2 separate regions of the Homo sapiens genome follow, and region 1 is linked to region 2. The links are contacts of gene promoters, found by promoter capture Hi-C in blood cells and fetal thymus (Javierre and others, 2016). All regions are on one chromosome and are shown on one strand. Each heading gives the region's core, a stretch centred on a gene start or on the middle of the fragment in contact. The rest is flanking DNA. Distances are from core to core; before and after follow the strand shown.

Region 1 (5,498 bases), core at 18-2,517, 1.0 Mb before region 2:
ACATCCCCTTGGCACTTTGTTTGCAGAACTTAGTCCAGGATTTTACTTCCAAGGATCAGCAATCCACTATGTAAGCTAATGTTTAAAGGAGTTACTATAAAGATTCAGAAGACTCTAACAGAACTCAATTGCAGGAAGTACAGATAAATCTCAGAGGAAACAGAAAGTCAGCAGGTCTGTTTCCAACTCTGCATCTCCCTTCACGTTTACTCTATTTTCCTGGTTATCTCTTCTCTCTGAAAGTCTTTTGATTTCTGTTCCTTTTTTTTTTTTCTGTCACCCAGGCTGGAGTGCAGTGGCATGTTCATAGGTCAGTGCAGCCTCAAATCCTGGGCTCAAGTGATCCTCCTGCCTCAGCCTCCTGAGTAGCTAGGATAAGAGGCACATGGCACTGTGCCTGGTTATCTTATTTTATTTTTTGGTGAGACAGGCTTTTGCTTTGTTGCCCAGGCTGGTCTCAAACTCCTGACTTTAAGTGATCCTCTTGCCTCAGCCTCTCAAAGTGCTGGGATTACAGGTATATGCCACCATGATTGGACTTAATTTCTGTTTCTTCCAAGCTTTTCTATATGCCCTTTGGATTCAAGAGATCACCATCATCAGACTGGCTCAGTTTCTCAGTGCCTCAATTGCAGATGCCTGAGAAAGAGGGTTTGATGGTCTTTGGTCTGGAGTCCATATGTATCCCATTCAGATGGACTTTGGAGGGTGGGGTCTCTAAGAAGAGGTAATGGGTAGAGCCATCAGGACTGACGTATATTCTCCATTGTATAAATAAATACATGAAAACGGAATGAATGATTGGATGATTCATGTGTGTATGAATGGAAGATGAATAAATGAATGAGAGGTGGATGGATGACTACCAAGCCCAACCAACCCATTTAGGAGAGAGGTGGGTGGGATTACATGGCTTCTCTCTATGTCATGGGTTCTTAACCAAAGGTTCATGGATAGGCTTGAGAAGGTCTGAGAACCCTCCGAAGTCATCTATTAAAATGTCGTGTACATGTGACTATATGTATTTTCTGGGGAGAGGGTTCATAGTTTTCATCAGAATCTCTAAGAACTCTACAATCTAAAAAAAATCAAGGAACCCTGATTATGAATCCTTGGGATTTTTGTTCTTGCTAAATAGGAAATGCTGGCCGGGCACAGTGGCTCGCGCCTGTAATCCCAGCACTTTGGGAGGCCGAGGCGGGCAGATCATGAGGACAGGAGTTCGAGACTGGCCGGGCCAACATAGTGAAACCCCCGTCTCTACTAAAAATATAAAAAAATTAGCCAGGTGTGGTCCAGCACCTGTAACACCAGCTACTTGGGTGGCTGAGGCCAGAGAATCGCTTGAACCTGGGAGGCGGAGGTTGCAGTGAGCCGAGATCGCTCCATTGCACTCCAGCCTGGGTGACAGTGTGAGACTCCATCTCAAAAAAAAAAAAAAAAAAAAGGCTGTTAACATTGTGACATCCTGAGAAGCATTCCTTCGAGCCCAGTATATCGCAAAGCTAATTGAGCCAGAAAAAGTCAGAATTCATTCATTCCCTTTTCTGCTATCCCTCGTCCATCCAATTGACTCACCAAATTTCTCACCCTCTCTTCAAGACTGAAAACCCCTGGCCCTCCATGTTATCTACTTTTCCCATAAATAAAGTCTAGTTTAAAAGTAGCTGAAAGCAGAGAGTTTTTATTTTTAACTTTGATCCAAAAATGTTGCTTGTCTCCCCACTTCTGTCCCTTTCCTGGCCACAAACATTTTTGCTGGTTCATCTAGCTGCCTGAAACCACAGCCCCTCAGAGCCAGAAGGGCCCTTAGAAATCAATCTGGTCAGAGCATTTCACCTGGAGGACTCAGCCTCCAAAAGATCATATGAGAATATCTGTGGGAAATTCTAAAAATATAGTGAATATTATAATATTAAATATACAAAGCAGAAGTATTTTTTTCTAACAAAAGCTGTCAAAGGTAAAGCTTGAGAAATACTTTTGTTTAGTATGACTATATGGAAGATAAATTTTCTTCTTCCTTTTTTTTTTTTTTGAGATGGAGTCTCGCTCTGTTGCCCAGGCTGAAATGAAGTGACGCGATCTTGGCTCACTGCAACCTCTGCCTCCCAGGGTTCAAGCTATTCTCTTGCCTCAGCCTCCTGAGTAGCTGGGATTACAGGCATACTCCACCACACCTGGCTAATTTTCTTACTTTTAGTGGAGACAAGTTTTCACCATGTTGGCCAGGCTGGTCTCGAACCCCTGACCTCAAGTGATCTGCCCACCTTGGCCTCCCAAAGTGCTGGGATTACTGGCATGAGCCACTGCGCAGGGCCTGGAAGATAAACTTAGTAGGAGTAGAAACAGATATCACGAGGCCTGAAGCTTATATAATTTGGGAAGCCTCCTTTAAAAAGAATATAATTACCAATAAAAATTTAGCTACAAAAATAAGTACTCTTCTTAGAATTAAGGAAGAAAACTTTAAAGCTGACAGATAACATAAACATCAAAAGCTGGAAACATGTTTTTATTGTTAGTATCATAAATTAACTAACCCTCTTTTATAATACTTTCCTGCATCTTTGGCTGTATTTTGCTTTTTCTGTTCATTGGACAATGATTTTATAATGTCATTTTCTATAAAGAGGATAGAATGAATATTCTAGCATGGCTGGCTGAAAATTGTATTTATTGTATTTTGTTTTCATTGTTAGCTTAGACAAATTTCTTTATGCACATCCATAACTTTCTCAGCAGTTTCTTGCTGAAGTGTGCTTCTTTCATGTTGGCAAGTCCTGGGAAAACTCCAGCGTTTGATCTCCCTCGACCTGTTCCACCCATCTCCCCTACTTTTACGCAAGTCCTCTTGGACCAGGCGGTCCCCACTGGGAATGCGCAGCCTCTCTTTCAGATGCCTTTTTGGGGGTTAGAGTAGAGTCTGGATGTGTGTTGAGTCTACCAGAAGCAAGTGGTCCTGAGGACTGGGTGGTCTGCAGCCCCACCCACAGGCATCCAGGACCACTACCAGGGCATATAAGGTGACCCCTCAGGCTGGGGATGGCTTCAAGCTAGAGGGGGCCAGGTGAGGCTGCTTCCTCCCTGTCCTGGAAACCTCAGCTTCATTAGCTTCCAAAGCAAACCTGAAGCACTCTTGATTTAAATCAGAAGTTCTTAAACACTTTGGTATTCAGAAGCCTTTATACTCTCATAAATTATTGAAGACCCCACAGAGCTTTTGTTTAATCTATGGGTATTTATGGTATTAGAAATTAAAACAAATTAAAAAAACATTTTTAAATTTATCTAAAATAATTATATGTTATATAATTATGCTGTAATACATAATAGTACATGTTAGTGTAACATTTTTATGATAACTATATTATTCAAATAAATTAATGACAAGATGGCATTACTTTACAGTTCTGGAAATCTCTTTTAATATCTGACTTAATGGAAGTAATGGAAGTGGGATTCCATCTTCCGCAATGTATGTATTCTGTGATATGATTTTGGTTGAAACTTGTGAAGAAAATATGGAAGGAAGAAGAATTTAATACTCTTCTCAGATAATTGTGGCTATTCTTTTAAACCTCACAAAAGCTTGACAAATCGTATTTTCTCAAAGGTCAGTTATAATGTTGAATCTGTAACTGTACTGATGACCTTCTTCGTACTCTGTTATATTAAAATCTCTTGATCTGTGTTACACTTGGATAGAAATTTTTTCGCATCATTTTGTACTAGCTTGCATGAGTTATTTGGAAACTATTAGCTCACTGACTTGTGCTAATCTTACAAATGTTGACATGTTTCACTATACAATATCAAAATTGCATTTGTCAATATCATCATCACCTTAGCCTCTAAGGATTGGGATGCTAATAAGCTTACAGTATAAGATGCAACTTTTTTCCCCAAACTTGAGTTTTGTCATTGGCAACACATTCTGCCAGTTATTTTCCTTGAAGTGACAGGCTAACTTTGTTATTTTCTTAAGAGAATGTGTGCCAAATATCCAAGTCTGAGTAACCATAGTTCGTCTGTCAGTGGTTTTTTAAGTGGAAATGATGTTCCATTAAAAAAAGTGGCTAATTCATCTCATAACTCAATCGTGTAAGTACTTTTCCTGGAAGTGACCATTCACACTCCTGCATATAGGAGAAGTACTTTATTTGAGTGCGTACTTCCCATTCTGTTACACAAAATATTCAAAAGATGTATACTCAGGGTCAAGATTTCATAACATTAGTAATTTTTACTACCTCAAAATGAACAACCTAAAGTAAAACTGGCATTTTTTTTTACTGCACATATGTGACAATGAGGGATATGATGACTATAAATAATATACTGAAGATTTAAAAAAAGAATATAATAGTTTTGTGCCACTGTCTTGATTCATGCTATAAGGCACCAAATTTTACTCACCAATGCTTATGTGCCATTAGTGCAAATATGAATCAGTACAAAAGGCAAATAATGTCTTAATTTGGTTTTGAAAATAGTTTGGCCTCATGGATTCCTAAAAACACCTTAGGTATTCGCAGGGGTTCCATGGGTCATACTTTGAGAACTGCTGGCTTAAATGCCTTAAGCATCCTTCTAAGTGAATCAGAGGTCAAGGAAGGAGACATCATTGGTGGCTGAGGGAGAGAAGGGGAGGACCAGACATGACAGTCTTCATGACAATGACCTAGTTGAATACTATCTTTGTAAAAATGAAGAAATGGAGGCACAGTGAGATTTGCTCCAAGTCATCCAGCTAGATGGTGGTAGAGCCAGGGTTAACTCCTAGGTCTCCTCCTGACACACAGAGTCTGTGAGCCTCTGTCAAGTTAGGTCTCTCACCGAAATTATCTTACAATTATTTATTGAGTACTTGTTGTGTGCCAGGTACAGGGCTAGGTATTGAAGATATTAAATCAAATGACATTGTCATGATCCTTCAACTTGGTAGTCTAGGAAGCATGCAGATGGGCAAATCAATTCCACTCGCAGTTAGCACGAAGACAGGTGATACAGAGAGCACGGGGGGCTCAGAGCAGGGACGCCCGGATCTGCAAGTGGCTGAGAATGTCCAGAATCGGGATTCTGACACTGAGTTGGGAAGGAAGAATCAAGTTAGCCAGATCAGGGAAAGTGAGAGCTTTTCTAGTGGAGCAGAGCCTGTGGGAAGGCAGGGAAGAGAGGAGTTTGAGTAGCTGGAGGAATGGATGTATGGGATAAATGGCTGGAGGTGAGGAGTGGGTGCAGAGGCTGGGTCGTGGAGGCTGGGTATGTCCACCTAAGAAGTCTAGATTTTATTAGGAAAGCTGTGGGGAGCCAGACAGGCTAGCTGGAGGACAGGCTAGAAAGACAGTCTGGTGCTTTTTCTAAATTCCAGATGGTTGTGACACCAGGACAAATCTTTTGCCTCTCTGGGCCTCTCTTTCCCCAAGTACACCTTGAGTCACACAGTGACAGGCAAGTTTGTTATATGAATTCCCCACCTACCATTAAGAGAGCTG
Region 2 (5,679 bases), core at 3,042-5,541:
TGAAAATCGAGACCTTGCTGTGATTCTGAAAGTCATTTCAATTCCATATTTAGAAGTAAACCAACACTCATCAATTTTTGAGAGATCACTTTCTAAAGAAAACATTTGATCAAACAAATTGTATTAATTTTTATATAACTATTTCCAATTTTGTTTTGAATTTGCTATTAATTAGTTGATTGAATCAAATATTTTAATGAATGCTGTGCACTTACAATTTCCCCTCCAGATCTAATCTTATCAATTATTAGCACTGACATTATGGATTTTCCTTTGCGACTTACTCCTATGAAATTTACCTTTTTTTAAGTGAAATTTTGCAGATATGAAATGTCAAGATTTTATTGTCACTTTTTACGCAATAACTCTCCATTGTCAAAGAGCACAACTTGGGGTCAAAAGCCTCTGGAGAGTGGAAAGGGCAAAATCTTCTATTCACTGAGGTGCTCCACAGAACAAATGCAGTACACAGAACCAATTCAAGAAAAATGCACATGAGGAGGCGGAGCTTGCAGTGAGCCAAGATGGCGCCATTGCACTCCAGCCTGGGTGACAGAGCGAGACTCCGTCTCAAAAAAAAAAACAAAAGAAAAAAAGAAAAAAATGCACATGAACTTTTCAGATTAGCTATCTGTTGGCTTTAATAATGTCAGCATAGGCTGGGCGTAGTGCCTCATGCCTGTAATCCCAGCATTTTGGGAAGCCGAGGCTGGTGGATCACCTGAGCTCGGGAGTTTGAGACCAGCCTGACCAACATGGTGAAACTCCGTCTCTACTAAAAATACAAAAATTAGCTAGGTGTGGTGGTGCATACCTGTAATCCCAGCTACTCGGGAGGCTGAGGCAGGAGAATCACTTGAACCCCAGAGGCGGAGGTTGTGGTGAGCCGAGATCACGCCATTGCATACCAGCCTGGGCAACAAGAGTGAAACTCCATCTCAATAATAACAATAATGTCAGCATAACACATCTGCATGGATACAGCTTTATGACTCCGTCCTTATCTGCCATCAAAAATGTTTTCATAAAGCTCTTTGTGTCCTCCCACCATTAGTTTATGAGATGTGAAGAAAAAGCTAACTTAGATTAGTTCAGGCAGAAACCTAAACTATCTGTAGTTTTAAGGGATAAAATGATGCTTGGGGACATCCCTAACCTTCTTCTAATGATCATGCTTGAAGTAGAGTGGTTTTTGTAGTTCACATTTAGAAACTCATTCTAAGCAAAGAAACCAATAGTAAAATCTAAGAATTACCAAACTACAAAGCACATCTCAAAAAAAGTTTATTATGTTTGATACAACAGATTCTCAATATTAGCAAATCATTCCACTTACCCCCAAGCGCCAGATCTTGACTGTACAGTCTAAAAACATTTGTCAAAGTGAGAAAAATGTTACAGAACATCTCATAAAAGAATTAAGATACAAATAGTATATACAGATAGTAGATTGTAACAAAGTGGAACGTACTTGCAAGACATCACCTAGCTAAAATACTTGATTCCCTATGAGGACAAACTGAAAAATAAAATATTTCAAGCACACAAAGAAAGGACAAAATAGGGGAAACCAATGGGAAATATAAAGTTTAAACTTATTTTTAACATTTAAAAGCAACTACACTTTTCCATTTGAGCCAGTTCAAAAAGGAGAAGTCAAATAAAGACTTTAGAATCCTGTGACCAACTATAATTTGAGCTTGATAACATGAATGGCATCTGAAAGATGCAAGCCAAGTATTTCTAGTACTGTGACCTTGAGAGATAATAACTGAGCAACCTGCTAGGTTAACCTTGAGGGGTAAATCATATTGATAGAACAAACTGAATAAAGTGAATGATACACCAGACAATTAGGCACCAATTAGGCTCACTTCTCCATTTTCCAAACCTACCAAAAAATATCTGAATAGACAGATAGATTCAGACCAGGGAGTGAGCAAAAAATAAAAATGATTGCTAATTAGGCAATTATATACTAAAAGTGGACCTTTTAAGGCCAGAGTTTTCATCCCAATCACCAGAGATCCCCATAATTTCACCGTATTCAGATTGGCTATCTCTACTTTTAAATTGGCACTGTCTAAAAATTCACAAACATTTATGGAATGGTAAAAATTTTGAGCTTCAAACAATTGAATACCATTTGGTGATGCAAGAAAATGCTAATTTTAAAAATAGCTTCTGATTTTGGAATTATGGAAGTCTAAATATAATGTTTTCTCACTTTAAAATGGAAAAAACTTTCGTGCTGTTTCTAAAACACAACATAAAAAGGGAAAACCATTTGGCACTGTGTACACACAGGAACATCCCAGTTTTAGTTTTTAATCATGTTTTTCAAGGAAACAATTACTTTCTCCAAATGCATGGTTTTTAAAGAGTACTTCGTATTTCCAGGACATCTTCTTTTGACCTAGTGTGTTTCTTCTTAAAAATCAATGACAGTTTTGTCTCTAGGTTTCTGACTTTTTGAAGCATGATCCCCAAAGAGGTCATAATCACTCATATTTTAAAAACCAAAAAAAATTTCATTTTTGTTAAAGTATCCCATCAATGAAAATAAAGTTGTACAGAGGTTTGAGATAAAGATAAGGTATTAGATTTTCTTCACAATCAGCCTACTAGCTTGACTGGCTCTCTTTTCCCAAAATGACATTTCAAACTCTTTTGAAGGACAGGAAGTTATAAAATGTAAACAATTAAGAATTGTCATACTCGGTTATTCTACCTAGTGTCCTCCAGTTGGTAAGCAAGACCAAGGAGTGTGTCGCTAAGAGAGAGAGACACTGGTATCCTTCCTGTTGGCTACTGCTCAAGTTAAGAAAATATCTTAAAATACGCCTACCTTTACCAAAAAAAAAAAAAAAAGTATATTTTAAATGATACCAATAAAGAACACATGCAGGCTTTTCTTTTCCTCCTAAAAATTAAAGCCAGCTTTCACAGTTGGTAAAATAATGGTAGGACAGCATTAAGACATTTTACGGGGGGAAAAATGTTTGTGACAGCAGAGTGGAAATCAGCGTTAGGATCCAGCCAAGAACAACAGAGGGAGTAAGTGAAGAATTGACTCAGGAGCAACTATCCTTAACATACTGACAGCCTATCCCAATATTTTGAGTTGTTTAAGAGCCAAGGCTGTAACAGGATACCAAATTTGCCATGAGATATATCTGTCTTTAAGGGTGTTTAAAAATAAAGTCAGCTGAAGGAAAAACAGTAGTTGAATCATAAAACTGAAAGAACAACTTATATAGTGTGTAAGGAACTCAAGAGAAACCAGTGAGCGAGCCTTTATGTGAACCACTGAAACAATCTCTTAAAAATAAGGCAATTCTTTTCTAAGTCAAATTCATTAGCAATGGAACATAATCTACAAAATTATTTTCTCCCATGATTTGAATGTCCATAGTCTCAGTTTTTTCTGGGCAGTCTTCATTTATTCCTTTTGTCCCACCTAATAATAGCCCCTTTCACTCTAAAAAGTATCCCAGTTTGGAAAATAATTATTTGGTCATTCTACCCAACTCCACTGGTTACCCCAAAACATTATTTTGAATAATCATCTTTTCCAGAAGTTACAGGCCTGAGGAACTTCAAGTTTTTAGAGAAAACATCACAAACTGGTATACAAGAGAAATACTGCAAAGTACAAAATACCTGACTCCAGTTTGGTTATCAGTAGTGCTGTCAGAACCACACTGGAAAACCAGGTCATGGTAAGAAGGTCTTTGTGGAGGCAGTGGAAGTAAGGTCATCTGAGGAGGGAAAAAGTTACCATTCCAGGTCGGCGCTGAAGGTTGTTCTGTAAACACTGTAATCCTCCCTGTTAGCATCTCAATTGTTTTGCTGCAAGAGCCAAACACCCTGAAAAAAGCTTGAGTGTTCCGGCTTAGGAAATGTACCTCCACAAGAGCAGGTCTTGGCTGTAGCAGGTATGGGTTTAAGAGATCAACTAGAGAACGAAGTTCATAGAAAAGAGCCTCTCTCTGAAGCCTAAGATAGTCTGAAAATTCAGTGGGTAATAAAAGCTGGTGAGTTCTCAAAAAATCTAAGATGAAACTAAACAAATCACCATCTCTGTCTACAAAAATCTGGCCACCAACCATCTTGAATTCTTGGTCTCTGCCATCTAACATGCGTGCCAAACGAGAAGCAGGAAACTGCTTTATCGTAGAAAACCTTGTCGTGAATATCTTCCCTCCCACATTCAAAGTGACCAGTTCCTGACTACTCATTCTTCCCTCACTTCAAACTAGAGGCTACCATCAGCCACACTTAGGAAATCAACCTATAACCATAAATGTTGCTAGTTATACATGATTATGCAGTGGAGGGGAGGGAAGAATAACAAAAACCAGACTTAGATTCCCAGGAAACTACTGTAAGGTAAATAGTGTATCCATGGCTGTGTTTGCAAATTCGAGTTGCCTGGGAACTTGCAGTATACAAAATGAAAAAGCAACAGATGAGGAACTAAATAGCTTAAGGAAAACTGCCAATATATCTGAAGATAGACATCAAATAGATCCCTTTCCTGTCTTACATTTAAAAACTTATCCATGAAAACCTAGTAAAACTATATATATATATATATATATATATATATATATATATATATATATATATATATATATTTTTTTTTTTTTTTTTTTTATTACTGGGAGGGGAAAAGCATTCTCCCTCCCCATACCTGTCTACCACGCAGAGGCTAGACTTAAACGTTTTTCTTAATTTCTTATGATCTCCTTAGAAATTTAGTGGCTAAATCATGAATTACATGTTAGGAATGAGACAGCCTGGCAAGCTCAATTTGACTATTCTCATAGCTAGAAGGAAATCATTTCTTCTGTGCTTTAAATTTAGTTGCCACCTTTTATCCTGTCCCCATTTTCATTACCTCCTCTCAACCAAATTAGAGGAGGACTGAGGTAAAGAACTCTTATTTTCAGAAAGTCTATTCCACTTAATGGGCTTTCAAGGAATATCTTACTCTATGACACAAATAAGGCAGACTAGAGAGCAGTTATAAGGTTACTTCTTTGTTATATGAATTCTAAGCAAGGTGTTTATTCCATGAGAGGGTATCTTTATCTCTTGTGAGCAGACAGAACAGCATTAGTGTTCAGCTGATTACTTTGTAATAGCTGACAGACTGTTTTATCTGTTGTCAAATTAGTCTTAACTACACTAAACATTCTTTCTGTAAGCAAGTGGATTGGTTTGGTTGTACACTTGCCATCTTTCGAACAAAACAACACATAGCTGCCAGAAAAAAGGTAGTCTTCCCATTTCCTGCTCTTGCCATGTGTTCTATATATACATATATATGTATATATATGTATGTGTACATATGTGTGTGTGTGTGTGTATATATATATATATATTTTTTTTTTTTTTTTTTTTTTTTTTTTTTTTGGTAGAGACTGGGTCTTGCTATGTTTACGAAGCTGGTTTCGAACTGGAACTCCTAGCCTCAAATAATCCTCCCACATCACTGTCCTAGAATGCTGAGATTATAGACATGAGCCACCCTGCCCAGCCAGCTGATCCTTTTTTTTAACCTATCTATGCTTTTGCTTGCATAGCCACTTAACATTTCTAGTTGATCATCTTTGGTGAAAACTACAAAAACAAAGGAGAAAAGGGCAGATTGAAAGCTCCACTCTCCTAAAA

Evidence for each region. Contacts are between HindIII fragments. The CHiCAGO score rates a contact against its expected background, and 5 or more counts as called.
Region 1: a fragment that was not itself captured here is called in contact with the fragment with the promoter of KCNRG in region 2 in 1 of 17 cell types (fetal thymus); the score reaches 6.5 in fetal thymus.

What each region holds. Positions count from the first base shown.
Region 1 is chr13:51,051,451-51,056,948 of GRCh38, reverse strand. It overlaps the pseudogene GUCY1B2. Among named protein-coding and RNA genes, the nearest start is that of C13orf42, 57 kb to the left of the region's middle. The HindIII fragment of the contact is 1,409 bases long and covers 563-1,971 here.
Region 2 is chr13:50,014,056-50,019,734 of GRCh38, reverse strand. It overlaps KCNRG (potassium channel regulator), which reads right to left and starts at 4,291. Exons shown (of 2, transcript NM_173605.2): 1 at 3,664-4,291. The coding sequence starts at 4,241. It overlaps TRIM13 (tripartite motif containing 13), which reads right to left. Exons shown (of 2, transcript NM_213590.3): 2 at 1,268-5,679. The region is part of intron 10 of DLEU2 (deleted in lymphocytic leukemia 2); the gene reads left to right. The HindIII fragment of the contact is 12,687 bases long and covers 3,883-5,679 here.